2 separate regions of the Homo sapiens genome follow, and region 1 is linked to region 2. The links are contacts of gene promoters, found by promoter capture Hi-C in human tissues and cell types (Jung and others, 2019). All regions are on one chromosome and are shown on one strand. Each heading gives the region's core, a stretch centred on a gene start or on the middle of the fragment in contact. The rest is flanking DNA. Distances are from core to core; before and after follow the strand shown. Region 1 overlaps COL25A1-DT (COL25A1 divergent transcript). Region 2 holds the start of OSTC (oligosaccharyltransferase complex non-catalytic subunit).

Region 1 (4,458 bases), core at 1,728-4,227, 660 kb before region 2:
CCCCACCACAGATTGGACAGGGTCGAGCTGGCTTCCTCATGCTGCCTGGGCAGTCGTTTTTAACATTCCCTGGTTTGCCACATTTGTCGCAGTTAACAGGTGCATCTTTGGGATTCTGGGGTTTGTAAGCCTGCAGGGTGGCCAATAGATTTTTCTGTCTTTTTCTTGCATATCCTCTCCCTTTCTTGGCACTGTATGAGATACAAAGCTCATCCACAAACTTCTCTGCTGCTTGCAGGGCTGTTTGCTTCTCAGTGGTAGTCAAAGTTTGATTCAAAAGTAACATAACATCCTTCCAGGAGAGTTCAAATACTTGGTTTAAATTCTGGAAAGCCTCTGTATACCCTTCAGGGTCATCTGAAAACTTACCAAGATCCCCCCTAATTTGTCTTAAGTCCTGTAGAAAAAAGACATGAGTAAACACGTCTATACCTTAATGGGGCCATATTCACAAGGCATCTCTTGTAGGGCCATGAGTGAGGCTGGGACCTGCCTGAAACGAGGATTCCTAGGAGAGGACAAGCTTGAGAGAGAACCTGGATAGGGAGGACATGATGGACCAGGAGTAGGACTGGAGGGGTCTGATCCCCCTGCTGGAGGCACCTCTGGGGTTTACTTCCCTGGAATTTACTTCCCTGGGGTTTACTTCCCTGGGACTGTCCTTTGCAGCCTCTCCTGAGATGACTGCTAGGCAGGCTGGATCTATCCTACAATATCAGCAAAGGTCCAGATTATCCTGCAAGGCAAAGAAAACCTGCATGTATGAGACCTCAGACCATTTGCCTCCATGTTTACAGAAACGGTCCAGCTGCAGGTTAGCATTAAAGTTGATACTTCCCTCCAGAGGCCAGGCTTCTCCATCCTGCTGCTTATAACCTGGCCAAGCCCTTGTGCAAAGGAATATACAGCATTTTCTCTTCAGAATCTGCAGGTCAAAGGATTCCCAGTGATTCAGGATGCACTCTAGAGGAGTGCAGGCTGAAAATAGTTTGTTACCCATCTGAAAAGAGAGAGGGGAGAAAAGGTATCCTTTAGACTCTTCTCTATCCTCTTGAATTTGAGTCACCCCCTGAATCTCAGCACCTAGTACTGGTGCCATGGATGGGCTGGTGGTGTCTACATCATGGATATGAACATCACCTCCACCCATGAAGTGGGAAGGCCTAATTGGCAGGGATAGTCATTCTTACCTGTGCTGTGCCCTAGCCTTTTGCTGTTGACTGCCTCTTGGTCCCTCAAATCTAGTTTTCTTTATAGGGCTCCAAATCGAAGCTTGGAAAATACAATGGAGTAATACTAAGGTGAAGGTGTGGAACCAGATCCTCCTCAAACAAAGGAAAGAAAGGGAATCCTGGGAATTGGGGACCTGGCCTAATAAGATGCCTCCCAAAAGGAAAACATTAATCCCTTGCATGGAAAAGCTCCTTGTATTCGCAGGATTATGTTGACTCTGACAGGGTGGAAAAAAGCAATTTAAATGCAGAGGAGGGAAGGTGGCTGGGGGAAATAGCCTCTTGTTCTGTGGTAATGAGTTTCTTCAACAGGGGAAAGAAAACTCTCTTAATTGTTACATCCCTCTATTTCTAAGAATAGACAGAAGCAACATTGTTCTGGATTACACTCCTGATGACTAAGCCAAGTCCTCATTCTATCCAGTAATAGTATCTCTTTTCGTTGCAAAAACACCGGTAACATTGTCTATAAATAGGGGATAGCAGTCAGGACACTCTTGAAAGAAAGAAAATTAGATAGGAAGGACTGAAAGCCTTGGCCTGGCACCTGAATGGGCTGTGGGGGATTGGAGCTGGTCCAGGAGTCTTCAGGTAACACCAAAGTGTGCCTTGGCCAGATACCTTCAGTTGTTCAGGACTTTATTCCAACCTACGTAATGGCTAGACTTCCAGGAAAGGAAACTGGATTGGAACAAGGCCAACATTCCCAACACCCAAGGATGAAGGGGGACTGACAATGTCCTCCCGAGCAAGTCTGTCCTCTGAGTCTTGTAGATTGGCAGTTGGTCTATTCACCCTTAACTGTCTAACAGAGACTTGGTGTTTTATCTGTTTTCGAAAAAAAAGTGAGGATGAGAGTCCTCAGAAATGAAAGTAAAGGGTCACAGGTCTGCTCTTACTCACCCTTCTGAAGACCTGGACGAGCCTCCAGAAATGTTGCAGCTTCTTTACTCCCATAGTTCGGTGAGTGAGAGGGAGTGGCTCCCAGTGGCTTCTTCACTCCTGTAGTTTGGCGAGAGGGAGAGAGTGGCACCAATCAACTTCTTTACTCCCGTAGTTCAGCGAGTGGGAGGGAGCGTTACTGCTCTTTCACTCCTGCAGTTTGGTGAGTTCTGAGTTCTTGTCTAATGACCAAGAGGAGTGAGGTACATGGACATTGGAGAGTGAGTAAGGCAGAGTTGAATTTTATTGAGTGACAGAAAGAAAGCCCTCAGCAAGAGGGGACCCAAAAGTAGACTGCCATCAGTGAGGCTGAGTCCAGGGTTTTTATGGGCTTAGAATAGGGGAACGTGTGCTGATTGGTTTATGGGTGGGCTTGGAAAAGACACCATTCAATTGGTTAAAAGGCATCATTCAGAAAGAACCTATTGAGAGACAGTGGATAAGGTGGGGATGGAAGTTCTCACTCAGATCTGTGGCTTCTATCCTGAATTAGTAGCTCAGTTTTCAGGCTTTAGACTGTCTTTGGCTTGAAGGTTGAGTTTCACCAAGGACCCATCCTGTCTGCCTAGAAATTTGTCTATCTCCTGTGGCTATCACAGCCAAGGTTGTGGAGAAAAAGGAACATTAATACACTGTTGTTGGGAGTGTAAATTAGTTCAACCATTGTGGGAGACAGTGTGGTGATTCCTCAAACACCTAAAGACAGAAATACCATTTGACCGAGTAATCCCATTACTGGGTATATAACTACAGAAATATATATTGTTCTATTATAAAAAAATTCATGTGTATGTTAATTGCAGCACTATTCACAATAGCAAAGACATGGAATCAACTTAAATGCCCATCAATGATAGACTGGATAAAGAAAACATGATACAAATACACCATGGAATACTATTCAGCCACAAAAAAGAATGAGATCATGTCCTTTGCAGGGACATGGATGGAGTTGGATGCCTAACCTTAGTAAACTAATATGGGAACAAAAAATCAAATGCTGCCTGTTCTCACTCATAACTGGGAGCTAAATAATGAGAGTATAGGACATATAGCGTGGAACAACACACATTGAGGCCTACTAGAGGGTGGAGGGTGGGATGGAGGAGAGGATTTGGAAAAATACTAATGGACATTAGGCTTAATACCTGGGTGATGAGATAATCTTTACAATAAACTCCTGTGACATAGTTTACCTATGTAACAAACCTGCACATGTACCCCTGAACTTAAAATAAAAGTTAAAAATGTTTATTGGCTGTTTTTTATTTTTCACTTATAAAAGTGCTTATTTAAGCTTTTGCTAATTTTTTTTATTAGGTTGTCTGATGCTTTTTCGCATTGATTTGCAAGAATTCTTATACATTCTAGATAATAGTCTTTTCTCATTTCTATATTTTGCAAATATCTTTTCTCATTCTTTGTCTTGTATTTCAATCATTTTAAGTTTTTTTAATAAACAGAAGATCTTGATTTAATATATTCCAATTTATCAATCATTTCCTCTGTGGCTAGCTCTTTACGTATATTATTTAGAAAACCCTGCCTCAATCCAAGGTCATGATTACATTCTCCTTTATTATCTTTTAAATGCTTTATGCAAGGGATCTTCAAAAAGTTCACGGAATAATGGAATTAAAAGGTAAAAATAAAAAATATAAACTTTATTTCTCAAATTAAGCTCCATCAAGTTCTAGACACTTTTGTCATCAATCATCCAGACCTTTCTTTAGTGCATTCCTAAAGAACTGAGGGTCTTGGGAATTTAACCATGTCAATGCAGTCTTTTTTAACATTATTACCTAAAGAAAAATGAGTGTCCCTTAAAGATTTTTTAAAGATTAGGAAACAAAGAGAAGTCAGAAGGAGACAAATCAGGACTGTAGAAACTCTTCCCAATTTGCCCTTGTTAAATGAGAAAAGAATAAACGGGAGCATTGCCATGGTGCAGAACTCTCTGGTGAAGCTTTCCTGGGCATCTTTCTGCTAAAGCTTTGGCTAAGTTTCTCAAAACATTCTCATAATAAGCAGATATTATAATTCTTTGGCCCTTCAGAAAGTCAACAAGCAAAATGCCTTGAGCATCCCTAAAAATTGTTGCCATGACCTTTGCTTTTGACTGGGCTGCTTTTGCTTTGACTGGACCACGTCCACCTCTTGGTAGCCATTGCTTTGATTGTGCTTTGTCTTCAGGAGCATACCGGTAAAGCCATGTTTCATCTCCTGTTACAGTTCTTCAAAGAAATGCTTCAGGATCTTGATCCCACTTGTTTAACATTTTCAT
Region 2 (4,082 bases), core at 546-3,045:
CCACAAAGAAAACTGAGGCTTCTCGCAAAGAATCCGACTCCAAGGGAAGTAAGGGTTACAGGAAAGAAACTAGCATTATTCATTATTATTATTGAATAATGACTTTTTTTTTGTCCAACGACCTTCGTGAACTGTGCAAAAATATGGAACGCTTCACGAATTTGCGAGTCATTCTTGCACAGGGGCCATGGTAATCTTCTCCCTATCATTCCAATTTTAGTATATGTGCTGCCGAAGCGAGCACTCAATAATAATACTGAATTATTCTATATTATTTATTTTTAAAAGTCTATTATTTTTAAAAGCCACATGCATTTTAAATTTTGTTTATTCAGTACAGTAGCTATTAACTTGATGAGCAAATGTTAATGGTTAATGCTAATGCAATGCTAGATAGTATCTTGTTACCAAATAAGTATTTAAATGTAACTCAAATATTTAAATGTAATTTATTTAAATGAACGTAAGTTAATTCTCACTATTCTAGATTGGGGGAAGGAGGTAAATTCAAAGGTGCTTTCTAGAACTCAGCTCTCTCAGTTTGAATCCTCCCCCTTCAGTGCCAACTATTCTCACAAAACATCTATGAAAATAACAATTATATGGCCACTCCCTTAAAAGTAGAACTACTTTTGCTATCCCAAATCCGTAGCTTTAATTTTATAATTTCCAGGTTAAGTACACCACTTCCCAAAATCTAAATTAATTTTATAATTTCCAAGTTAAGTACACCACTTCCCCAAATCTAAATGTACACAGTAGCACAGTTCTAAGTAAATCTTGGAACTGTGGCCTGAAAGGGTAGTGGCTCTGAAAAGACTAGCCGGATTGCCAACTCACCAGTACATAAGGCAACGCCCCTTTGCAATTTTCTATTTGAAAAGGACAGAATAAGATGATAGACAATTCAGAAGCGTTTAATAGTAATGCTATTTATCTTATTTTTTTAATTCTCAACTTCTGCCCACTGAAATACAGTATCGTCTGCAAATCTCATCTCCAATCTCAAATATTTATCAAACCTGTGATTTCAGAAAATTCCATTGATATTTATTGTAGGTCATGCAAAAGGCAACACAGAACCCTAGGTTTGAGCCAACAAAACTAAAGATTGTCAAGTCTCTTCCAAGATTCCAGGACAAAGATAAGTTTAAAAGTCCCACAAGCTCTTGACCAACCATGGAAGCGGAGTTGGCCAAATTAGACCTTCCCAGGACCTTTATCAAACAACCAACCATGGAAACGGAGTTTGCCAAATTAGGCTTTCCCAGGACATTTATCAAACAACGTATGGCAAGCAACAAAAAGAGCAACAATTTGGCCTTGAAAAATATATTTGACTCGGATCCCTGGGATGGGAGGGCTAGAAGGAGAAGAAAGGCAATGGGAGTGAGAACACGAATTCTCTTAAGACAGGGCGTGAAGGCGAATAAACTTGGACGTTAACACTTCGGACCCCAGAACTCCCCTCCACCCTCAGAAAAGATCCAAAGCAGAGCTATGCTTCCCCCGGGGCTGAGAGTCAGCGGAACAGACGCGCCTCCCGGGGCGGGTCAGTTCTCCGCTCCTCAGCCTCTCGGGCCCGACAGCCCGAGTTACCTCCGGTGATGAGGAAGTAAGACACCACCACCAGAGCATACACAGTCATGGCCGACGGCATGTGCAACCAGGGCGGCTTCTTCAGCTTCAGGTTGGGACATTCGAGCACTAAGAACGGGACACGGTACAAAGTCTCCATGTTGGTGGCAGCAAGGGCCGTTCTCGGCCTCAAGCCCCACGCGCCTCCCGGAAACAGGCCCGCCCTCCCTAACAAGTGCGCGTGCGCGAGGAAAGGACCCGCAGATCCGTAAAGCTCGGAGGTGGTTACTATACTCATAGAAGAAAATAAGAAACTAAATAAAACAAATAAATGATATGAATAAAGTGTTGTAAATTATTTAATCTAATTAAACTTACATTGTGATAATGTACTCTACATTTTTCTAATGGATATATAGGTGATTTGTGTACCTTCAAGGACCTGCGGGACTTCTAACGTGGCCAAGCCGGAGAAGCGGAGGCCAAGGAATCTAGGTGAGCCCCGCCCACTCGCTGACGCAGGGGATTTGAAAGCTGATTGGACAGGGGGCGCTCCCGGTTCCCAGAGCGGGAGATGAATGGGAACTTTTGGATATAAATGCCTTTTATATTAGAGGTTTTTTCAAGGGTTAGGAAAAGCCGGAGGCTGCTGAGCTTTTACTTCCCGATGTAGTCGTGGTAATAATAAGAATTAATAATAGTTGCTAAAGTAATATGTTACCAATTTTTTTTAAACATCCAGCCTGGATCACAAATGTCAACAGGACATCTCTACAGGGATGCCTTAATGCTGATAGCTTGGCGTGACCATAATACTATTTTGAATAACTCATCCTCTCAACTTTGCTCTTCCCTTGGTCATCTGTATGTCGCTAAAAGGTAAAATCCCTCTGGCCAAAAATCTTAAAGTCGTCTGGATTTCTCTCCTTACTAACCTTCTGCATCCAAAATATTAGTAGGTCTCTTTGGCTGTACTACCAAAATATCTCCAATTCATCTGCCCCTCACCATTCCACCACTGACACCCTAGTGTGAACCACCGCCATCTCTGGTCTGGGCAACATTTACAATCCAAATAGATGAAAATATATGATGGAGAATTAGTCATTAGGGATGGACTAGAAGGTCTAAAAGATTTTTTGTTTTCTGTTTTGCTTTTCTTTTTTATATAATCTTTTAAGACTCTACAAATGTTAACTTCCTTTTGGAGCAAGAGTTAAGAGTCACTGATTACATAAGTCCAGAGCATATTGACACATTATAGAGCCAATGTTTTTATATTTTTTTATTTGCTTGTTACTAAGCCCGTGGTTATTTTTACAGGATGCCATGTATTGGTTCTGCACTTCTAATTAGCTAACAACTCAATTGTTAAGAAATTGCTTGAAGACGGTAATGAAAATACTATCAAAACATTGTAGTATCCAATTCTAAGTACAGTTGAGGCTTGCTGCCCTTACTGTTCATTAGTGAGAGTCTCTCCCAGAGTCATATTGCCTATGTCTTAACGGAGCCACACGAATCTTAGGTTATGTAAAGGCCAATGATAACACCAATAATGAATGCATTTACACCAAAACCAGCGTTTATATGTAGGAAGTTTCTCTGGGCACTGTAAAGCAGAATGTTTCTGAAATTCCCACAGTTTTATAAGTAAGGAACACTTTGGAACAATTAAAATATTTTGCTTTGGTATGAAGAAAAAAATAAAAATAAAACATTTTGCTTTGGAAAAACATAGGGATTAAAGGTTTTTAAATTTCCTTTATAGCTTAAAAAGGAATCTAACATTAATTAACCACTGCTTGGCAGGTACTATGTTAAGTGATTTACATTTGTGCTTATATACTCTTCATGACAATTCTGTTAGGTAAATACTAGTATAACTGCTTTACATATGACAAAAGTGGCTCCTGGGAAGGGAAATAAACTCAAAAAGTGTAGTATAGTCTGTGACTGGATGAGACCTAAAAGGCAATTGCTGTAGAAGTAAATAGATTTAAGACGTTTAAAATGGTATACGTTTATATACTTATCCTTCTTCCTGTGTATACTAGGGACACATAATTTCTACCTACATTGTGGAAAACATATAAATTATTAATATATAATTTTTAAATGAAAAATTAATTTCATAAATAATAAAACTGCCAAGTCAGAACACACTGCATTCATCTATATGTTAAATTATTACTATCACTTTCCAAAAAGTAAGTTTGCTCCAGGAACCAATTCATTATTATTTTTTAACCTCTTAAGCTTTGAAATATTTTTCAACATGAGTTTGTAATATTCTATAAGCCACGTATAAAAGAGACCTTTCATGAGTAAGATATGCATATCTGTTATCATCCATGTCCTAACCCACAATTCCTACAGAAAAATGTTCTATTTAAACATAACATAAACTCTGTAACTGAAAACCAAAGAAATAATGAATATAGCAGTGGGCATTAGAGCATGCCCTTAAATAAACATATAATCAATCATTCAGTGGTTTTCTA

What was found. The method cuts DNA at HindIII sites, captures the fragments that hold promoters and counts their contacts. A contact is called where the count stands out against the background at its distance.
Region 1: a fragment that was not itself captured here is called in contact with the fragment with the promoter of OSTC in region 2 in 1 of the 25 tissues and cell types used here (dorsolateral prefrontal cortex).

The regions. Positions count from the first base shown.
Region 1 is chr4:109,311,119-109,315,576 of GRCh38, reverse strand. COL25A1-DT (COL25A1 divergent transcript) reads right to left here. Exons shown (of 3, transcript NR_160939.1): 2 at 2,136-2,234; 3 at 1-1,000. Among named protein-coding and RNA genes, the nearest start is that of COL25A1-DT, 10 kb to the right of the region's middle. The HindIII fragment of the contact is 4,157 bases long and covers 899-4,458 here.
Region 2 is chr4:108,648,312-108,652,393 of GRCh38, reverse strand. OSTC (oligosaccharyltransferase complex non-catalytic subunit) reads right to left here and starts at 1,795. Exons shown (of 4, transcript NM_021227.4): 1 at 1,600-1,795. The coding sequence starts at 1,738. It also overlaps the pseudogene RNU6-431P. RefSeq lists enhancers at 842-891, 1,506-1,855. The HindIII fragment of the contact is 8,012 bases long and covers 1-4,044 here.